2 separate regions of the Homo sapiens genome follow, and region 1 is linked to region 2. Evidence: promoter capture Hi-C in 16 types of primary human blood cells and fetal thymus (Javierre and others, 2016). All regions are on one chromosome and are shown on one strand. The core of a region is centred on a gene start or on the middle of the fragment in contact, and the rest is flanking DNA. Distances in the headings are between cores, read along the strand shown.

Region 1 (4,687 bases), core at 1,818-4,317, 69 kb before region 2:
ATACTTCTTTTAATTTTCTATTTTTTTGTTGCTATATATAGATATGCAGTTGATTTTTGTATGTTGACCTTGCAACCTGTGACTGTGCTGAATTCAGTTATTGGTTCCAGATTTTTGAAGGGGAAAGTAGATTCCTTAGGATTTTCTACATATGCAATTATGTGTATCAGTGCATATATCACTTTAAACCATTTAAATTATGTGAACTATATCTCGCCATCCCCCACTAAACTACGTCAGGCATGAATAACTTAACATATTACGTTATACAAATATTTAATCTACAACTTTCTCTGTTGTTCACTGAATGGAAAAGGAAAGATTTCTTCGTTTTTCAATTCCTCAGTAAATTATCTAGAGTTGAAAAAGAGCATTTGCTGTTAAAGGCAGAATGATCAACTCAGCAATCTCTAATGAATTCACAGCTGTCAGTAACTTTGTCTAGTTTTTCAGTAAGATTTTCTGTATCATAATCAATTCTTGAGTAATTAAGGATTAGGCAATAAATGGGGACTTAAAATATTGGCAAGAAACTGCGTAGGAAACATTGTAACCTACTGGGTACCTCAAACCAGAAATTTAATTTCTAAATAATTTCACATGTTATTTTCATTGAAAAAGACTTCTAAATTTTGACCCTTAATATATTTTTTAAACCTCAAAACCATGGTATCTTATTCCAATTTAAAAATTCTAGGCTCAGTAAGAAAAAAGAAAAGAAAATTCTAGACTGGGCACAGTGGCTCACGACGGCTGTAATCCCAGCACTTTGTGGGGCTAAGCCGGACTGCTTGAGGCCAGGAGTTTGAGATCCACCTGGGCAACACAGTGAGACCCTATCTCTATAAAAAATTGTTCTTGAAGCTAGATAATTATCTGTACTCATCCAAACACTGTATCATAATATAAAAAAATCATTAAAACTTTTTAAATACAGATAGGGTGTCACTATGCTGCTCAGGCTGGTCTTAAACTCCTAGTCTCAAGTGATCCTCCTCTGCCTTGGCTTCCCAAAAAATAGAATATTTAGCTGAATCCTAGCATGAGGTCAGGTAAAATCTGGCTAATAGTATTTCCTAGAAGAAAGTCACCCGAGTCCACCAACCACCTAGGAGTGACAATAGATAGGCCAAGCCCACCTGAACATTAGAAGACATTAATTATTGTTCTCAACCTAAACAGTATAGTGCAAGTCATATATATGCAATTATCGCTAATGAAGCTTTGATAATATGTCTGGAAAAGTTCAAACAATGGTAACTAGGAAAAGATTCTGATAGGATAGTTCTGTCAAAAAGACTTTTTTTTTTTTTTTTGAGACGGAGTTTCACTCTTGTTGCCTAGGCTGGAGTGCAATGCCATGATCTCGGCTCACAGCAACCTCCACCTCCTGGGTTCAAGCGATTCTCCTGTTGCAGCCTCCCGAGTAGCTGGGATTACAGATGCATGCCACCATGCCTGGCTAATTTTGTATTTTTATTAGAGACGGGGTTTCTCCATGTTGGTCAGGCTGGTCTCGAACTCCCGACCTCAGCTGATCCGCCCGCCCTGGCCTCCCAAAGTGCTGGGATTACAGGCAGGAGCCACCGCGCCCAGCCCAAAAAGATTTTTTTTTTTTTACAAAAAGTTCTATCACATTGTTGATCTTATTCATAAAACAACTGTTCCAAAAAACTTACTCAATAACCAAATTGCCAGTAGAATTTCAAAAATACTTCCCTAACAGAGGAGAAAAATTAAAAATGTAAAACATGTCATTCAATTATATTCCCTCTATCATTTGACTTTAGAAAACATAGATGAAATTCAGTTTTATGGGAGGAATATCATGTGGTGGCTCACAAGCACTTTAAGGACTACTTTCCTCTAGCAAGAATACCTCTGCTACTATAAGAGTTTGGACTTTTGATTTCCAGGTTAACCACTGGTCAATCAGGAGGATTCTGAGATTGTAATCTTTACTGTGGCTTAAGAAAAAGAGGGTGCCTTCATTTGCTTATATGAGTCAGATAGGTGGGCTGATACTTTGGGCGTTTGAGTTAGAATAAAGCCAGGTTAAGACAGGTTATTATTCTATTTTATTTATGATAATAAAATTATATTTGTTTTTAAAAATGTCCTCATCTTTTAGAGATATTGCCTCAAAATAATTTAGGGTGGAAGGGGGATGACTGAAGAGGGATGGGTATAGATTAAAAAAGACTGGCCATGTATCAATGGTTGAAGCTTGGTGTTGCTTCATTATACTATTCTCTACTTTTGTAATGCTTGATAAAATGTTTAAAAGCATTTTATTCACAATTTCAAATTTTTTCAGATTCTAATCATTATTGAAAATTTAGTGTATAATAGTAAAATCTGTATGGTGACTCACCGGACATTTTCTGGTCTGAGTTTATCGAGAACCATCTCTATTAAGTCAGGTCTAAATTCTTCCAGTAAATATTCCGCTGTGAGCACCTCTTCTAGGGGATAATACTTTTAAAAAGGAAAATATAAATAAATAAAATATACAAAGCTACTACATAGTTTATTAAAGCAGATCTGTAACACATTAAATTCATTACTGTACACCCTTTCTCTCTTCAGTTAAATTTTACTCCATTGGAAAAATTTTCTGTAGCCCTAAATCGTTGTCTCTTTCCTACCACATTGTTAAGCAGTTTCATATTGTTTGATGATTCTGCCAAATATACTGTTAATCCCCAAACATACTTCCATTGTAGAGAGCAAAATCACATTTCTTTCGGGGAAAACCACGAATGTTTCTGGTTAAAAACTGAGTACTTGTTAATGAAGAAAATTCGATATTAAAATGCTGACACCTACAGGATTTTTAAAATATAAAGTACACACATTTTTATGAACAGAATTTCCTCCTAAATTTCTATGAAACAAATTAGACAAACATTTAGGAAGCGGCTGTGGAAAAAAAAATGGCTTATATTTTTGGCCAGTGTAGAAAAACAATGCAGAAGATGCTTTTTGGTAAGAGCAACTTCCAATATACTGAGACACACTGACTGATTCATTCATCTAATAAATATTTAATGAACATCTACTATGTGCCAGACACTGTTCCACACACTATGGATACAAAAGTAGGTAAGACACATGAAATCCTTTGTCCTCCAAGAAGCACACAGACATTGTAATTGGGAGGGAGGCAGACAACAAACAAATATTGTAATGTTAGTGAGAGATGCTATGAAAACAATAAAAAAAGGGGCAGGGGCATTATTTTAGATTGGGAGGTCAGAGAAGGTCTGAGGAGAAGAACTCTGAGTGGAGACTGAAATGATAAGAACCTAGCCAGGCAAAGATCAGATAGAACAGTGTTTCATGTAGAGAAAATAGCAATGGGGGAGGAATAAACTTAATGCTTGAAAATTAGAGAGCCAGTACAGTTGGAGTGGAATGCAAATGGGAGAGGTGGGCTGGACAGTGGTATAGAAGATGGCCAGATAGGCTGGGGCCACATCACCTTGTAGGCCAAGGAAAATTTTGCATTTTATGCCAACTCTGTTGGGAAACCACTGAAGGAATTTAAACAGAGGAGTGAAACATTCAGATTTTAGTTTTCAAAAGATCACGAGCCTGGAAAAATAAACTACAATGGGGACCAAGAGGAAAATAGGGATCGCAGGTAAAAGACTATCATGGTAGCCCAAGCAAGAAATGATGATAGCTCAGACTAGGATGGTAGCAATGGAAATTTTAAAAAAGTAAATGATCAATAGCTTTCATATAAGTAACACCTGATATGCTGTAGAACTGAAATATATTTAAAGCCAATAAGCAAAATGCATATTTAATAAAAATATTACATAAAATAAATTTCACGATGATGAAAATTAAGATTTTAAACATCTCCTGACATCAACATTTGCCCTGTTGCTACAAAGTTGAAAGCTTTATACCTCAGCTTCAATTGTAATCATTCACTTATTACTGAAAATATATGCAAGATTGCTGAAATACTCCACACAGCAATGTATACAGTAAAATAACAACAAACTTACATGCAATATTCCTGCAATCTTAGATGTATAGCCCCGTGGCCTCTCTTTGTCTTTAAACCTAAAAGCAACAGCATTCAAGTCCTAAAATAGAAAGTTAATCCAATTAGATACGGCCACCCTTATTTAGAAACCTTTTTTTTTTTTTTTAAGTGTTTGGCTTGCACTATAAGCTTTCTACTCCATATTTAACTTTATCACACTTTCTGAAAAAATGGCTATGCTTGATTTAGAAATGTATAGAATATTTTAAAAATTTCTTAATGTGTATAAAATTTAATCCATCAATCTAGGCTTAAAACCAAAAGCAAAATAGGTAAACAACTTTCAATGAAAATAACAAATACAGGATATGGCTCGATAGCCTAAGTTGTTGAAACTAATAGCCAAAGAATTTAGAAAAACTGTGTGAAAGAACCTTGTGAGATCCAACAATTCCACCATAGATGATTTTGGTGACTCATTCAGAGAACAGCACCCAGATTAGGAGTTATTGTCATAATTTTCAGAAGCAGAGATTATACCTTTAAACTTTTATCTAGTTAAAAAGGATGTTTCTCATACTAAAATACATTTGAGAATCTCGATAGGCTTTAAAGCACGTATTTTTAAAAACCCTTTTTTAAAAGGCTTTTAAAAATTTGAAAGACAAACACCATTTGTTTTAC
Region 2 (4,020 bases), core at 692-3,191:
ACATACAAACCACTTAGTTATACAAAACTTAAAATTGGTGCTTTCTTTAAAAATCACAAATGCTATATGCTGGAGACAGTATGGAGACAGCTAAGCCTAGCCTATCAGTAATGAATTTAGAACAAAAGCAGACTGACACAAAAGAGGACAAAAGGAGGCATCCTGCCTGTGCTTACCACCTGATTCTCTAAGTTCAGGGGTCTTTTGCACATTATAGGAGATTTTGTGATGTAGTGGAAAACAGAGGAGAACAAGTTCCATAGAGTCTTCATTTGTATTAGCTTATCTTAGTGCCCCACTGCTACCATCCTAATACAGGCAGTAAAGACTAAGTCCCAACAGGTTTCTCTGCCTTAGGACTCTCTCCACTTCCTGACATCCTGCACACAGCCACCAAACTACTTTCCTAAACCCCCAGTTCCATCAGATAACTTTCCAGCTCAAAAACTTTAATGGCTCCCTACCTACTACGCATTGGGAAAATCCCAACTAAAATTCAAGACCCAGGCCAGCATTACCCTACTGTTATAATACAGGACTTGTGTCCTTCTAATTACCCCAAGGAAATTCTATAAAGCTTCAACCAGACTAATCGGCTCACTGCTCCCCCAACACAAACTGCCCGCATATCTAGGCTGGATTACGCCCACGCCAGCCCTCACTCCAACCTTTCTGCCATTCCTTCCAAAGCCAGCCTACCCCCCCATCTCTGGCCCCACACACTACCCATACTACCCATCTTCTGACCCTCATCAACACACCCTTGTAGCTATCTCAATTCCCGTGGCATCCCAATCCGCTCCAATCAAGTCAAAGTTCCTTGGAAGGCAGACACATACTTTACATAGAGGGTCCAGCACAGTGCCCTGCACTTAGTAGGTGCTGGCTATTACTGATTAAAACCAGCAGGGGTTCAAATAACGTTTCTAGGGAGGGCAAGATAATACTGCCTATCTTCTTCCATTCGTAGTAAAAAGTATTCAGCGTTCACTACAAGCCTGAAAACGCCTAGCGTACGCAGATCAACGGTGCAGTGGAGAGGGCACGCCGCCGGATGGCAAAAAACCTGTGTCCTAATCCTGGTTTTGCCACAATCTCGGCAGTTGCTGGGAAATCAAGCCATCTCTCGGAGCTCCGGTTGTCTCCGACGTAAAACAAGGGAGCTGCTGTAGAGGATCCCGAGGTATCTTTTGGCTCCTAAATGTCCCCCGATAGGAAACCCCACACTCGTCTTCCAAGGCGGGAGGCAGGCAAACTTTTTTCCCAGCGCGGGCATTCCACACGGTCCTGGAAACTCAGTGCCCGGAGAAAAGGGCAGGGCTGAGGGCAAGGTGAGAAGCGGTCCCCCCGAAGTCGCCGGATTCCTTTACCCCACGGCTCGAGTCCGCCTCAGGTTCCCGGCCCCCTCACAGGCGGACTCCGGGAGAGTGACGCGGCGCGGCTCCCAGGTGCAGGCCGGGTGACTCTGTCCGCCCCTGCGCCCCCCGCACTAGTGGCACACGCCCCGTGGCCCCGGGTAGCGGCCCCGGCCCCTCACCAGCCCAAGGGACGTCCCCGACTCTGGACCAGGCCTCTGGCTCCCGCCTGGCGAGCCGCTCTTCCGGGCCCTGGGGCGGCCTCAGCGCGGCAGTACGGGCCCCAGGCCGGCGGGACGGGCGGCGTGAGGGGCAGCGGTGGCGGCTTTAAGTGCTGAATCACCACTTTGCAACCCGAGCGCCAAACCGCTGTGACCCACGGGGCCCGAGGGCCCGGGCGCTCCATTCCGCTTACCCACACAGGCGCTCCGGAGGCGGCAGGCGGGCGCCGAGGACTGAGCGGAAGGTGCTGGGCAGTGCGGGGTGCAGAAGCCACGCTAGCCGGTACCGCATTAGCCAGCGCAGTCGCCGGGATCACCGCAAACGCTTCCTGCTTGCGCTTCGAGCCGGCCCTGCGCACTGCGCATGCTCTAGCCGCGGCGCCGCGCGGTCTCCCGGGAGCTGCGGAGAGGTAGCTGCTCCGGGTTTTGCCTGGAGCCGGATGGGGCCAGGACGCAGGCGAGGACGGTGAAGACCGCGGACAGCCGAGGCCTGAGCAGGCGGACTGGAGGGACAGGGGTTTGGCCGGGGCGCTTTAGGAGCCAGCACCCAGACTTTCCCAGGCGGGGAGGGTCCCAGCTAGATCCCACCGGCCGCACTTGTGAGGGTGGCGACGTGTGTCTGACTGTGAGGGGGCGAGGGGCCGCTCATAAATCCAGTGAGGGCACACGGGGCTATGTTTTCTGAGGCACCCCCACTGACTAGCGTGCCGGACCCTGCAGGTGTTGGAACAAGGTTCGTGGTCGCGGCGGCCTCACGTAAAATGAATCCGCGGCCGGCGCGCGGCCCGCGGGCTCCCTCTAGAGCGCGGTGGGGACGTGGACCGCGAAGGCACAGATGCGCTGGAGACAAGGCTCGAGTGCGGCGTGGGGGAAATTCAGACGCAGGGGTCAGCGATAGAGAGGCCAGGACCCAGGGGGACGTTTCCATCCTTGGGGAAGTTAGCAGCTCTCTTAAGAGGAAGGTGCGGATGGGACGGGCGCCGCAGCAAAACAAGGCTTCAAATCCAGAGTAGAAACTACTACTCTTGTTAGTACTCCGTACTAGGAATACTACTAATGTCAGTCGGCTTCAGTGGTTACTTTTTAAACAAAGAATTTTCTCCCCAGTGGCTTTATGGGGCTTTGCACCCACGAACAACTTAATAGTTGTTATGAATCTAACTTTCCATAATACCTTATGGGAGTCTTTAAGGAAGAATGCTATTAGGGATGGTGACTTGCCAGCTTAAGTACTTTTAGGTTTCTGATTGACAGACGATCAAGACTGCAGCCAAAAACGGTGTCCTTAGTCCAAGTATTGCTTTAAATGGGAATTCAGTAGGAGGGTTCCTTAATCAAGTTGATGCTTTATCGAAGACGTACCCACGATCTTTTTAACAGTGCGGTTTCACCTAAAGGCAAACCTTTGGATGAAAACAGGTAAAAATTATGGCAAGCCTCCTAGTGGTGTTTGCAAGTGCATGGTTTTAAGAACCTTTAAATTACCAGTCCCAATGCAGAGTAGTCAATCACCTTGAAGCAGCTCCTCTGAGAGTGTTAATGCAGCCTTTCTGAATACATTTATGCTCCATTAATGGAATCTATAAATGGGCTGGGGTAGATTCAGACTTGGAGGGCTTGAAACATATACAATTTGGGGGACCTCTTTGAGACATAAAATACAAATTATAAATACAAAATTAGCAATCAGAAGATTACTATAGAGAGAAAATACATCACAACAAATACTCGAGACTTGGAGATTAGTACCCTTTTTTTTCCTGAGATCTCTTTAGGCTACTTATTAGAAATGCTTACATAAAAATGCTTCCAGATGGCCGGGCGTGGTGGCTCATGCCTGTAATCCCAGCACTTTGGGAGGCCAAGCCGGGCGGATAACGAGATCAGGAGTTCGAGACCAGCCTGACCAAAATGGTGAAACCCCGTGTCTACTAAAAATACAAAAATTAGCCAGGCGTGGTGGCATGCGTCTGTAATCCCAGCTACTGAGGAGGCTGAGGCAGGAGAATCACTTGAACCCTGGAGGCGGAGGTTGCAGTGAGCCAAGATCACGCCACTGCACTCCAGCCTGGGCAACAAAATGAGACTCTATGTCTCAAAAAAAAAAAAAATGCTTCCAGACAACAACTGGCTTTCCCTCTACAACTCCCAGTTTGGAGCCTGTGCAAGTGAGCAGCCCTGAAGTTTAAACTTCATTAGCTTCATGATAAATTTCCCTCTGGTTGGAGTAGATGTCCTGGATAAGAAAGATTAATATTAATATAGTCTCATAACTATCATCTCAATAAAGAGGAGGTGGATGGAAAGAAAAGTAACAATTTTGAGAGTCTACTCTGTGTCTGGCATTGTACATGGCTCCTTCATTAGTCATCATGACCACCCTCTGTAATGGATATTTCCTCACCTACCAGAGATGAGGAAGCTGTGGCAGAGAGAGGTTGAGT

Evidence for each region. Contacts are between HindIII fragments. The CHiCAGO score rates a contact against its expected background, and 5 or more counts as called.
Region 1: a fragment that was not itself captured here is called in contact with the fragment with the promoter of IDE in region 2 in 1 of 17 cell types (erythroblasts); the score reaches 6.1 in erythroblasts.

Annotation. Positions count from the first base shown.
Region 1 is chr10:92,502,420-92,507,106 of GRCh38, forward strand. IDE (insulin degrading enzyme) reads right to left here. Exons shown (of 25, transcript NM_004969.4): 10 at 4,023-4,103; 11 at 2,375-2,478. Among named protein-coding and RNA genes, the nearest start is that of IDE, 69 kb to the right of the region's middle. The HindIII fragment of the contact is 1,686 bases long and covers 2,225-3,910 here.
Region 2 is chr10:92,572,152-92,576,171 of GRCh38, forward strand. IDE (insulin degrading enzyme) reads right to left here and starts at 1,942. Exons shown (of 25, transcript NM_004969.4): 1 at 1,771-1,942. The coding sequence starts at 1,868. RefSeq lists a silencer at 1,342-1,791 and enhancers at 2,292-2,351, 2,362-2,601. The HindIII fragment of the contact is 22,211 bases long and covers 576-4,020 here.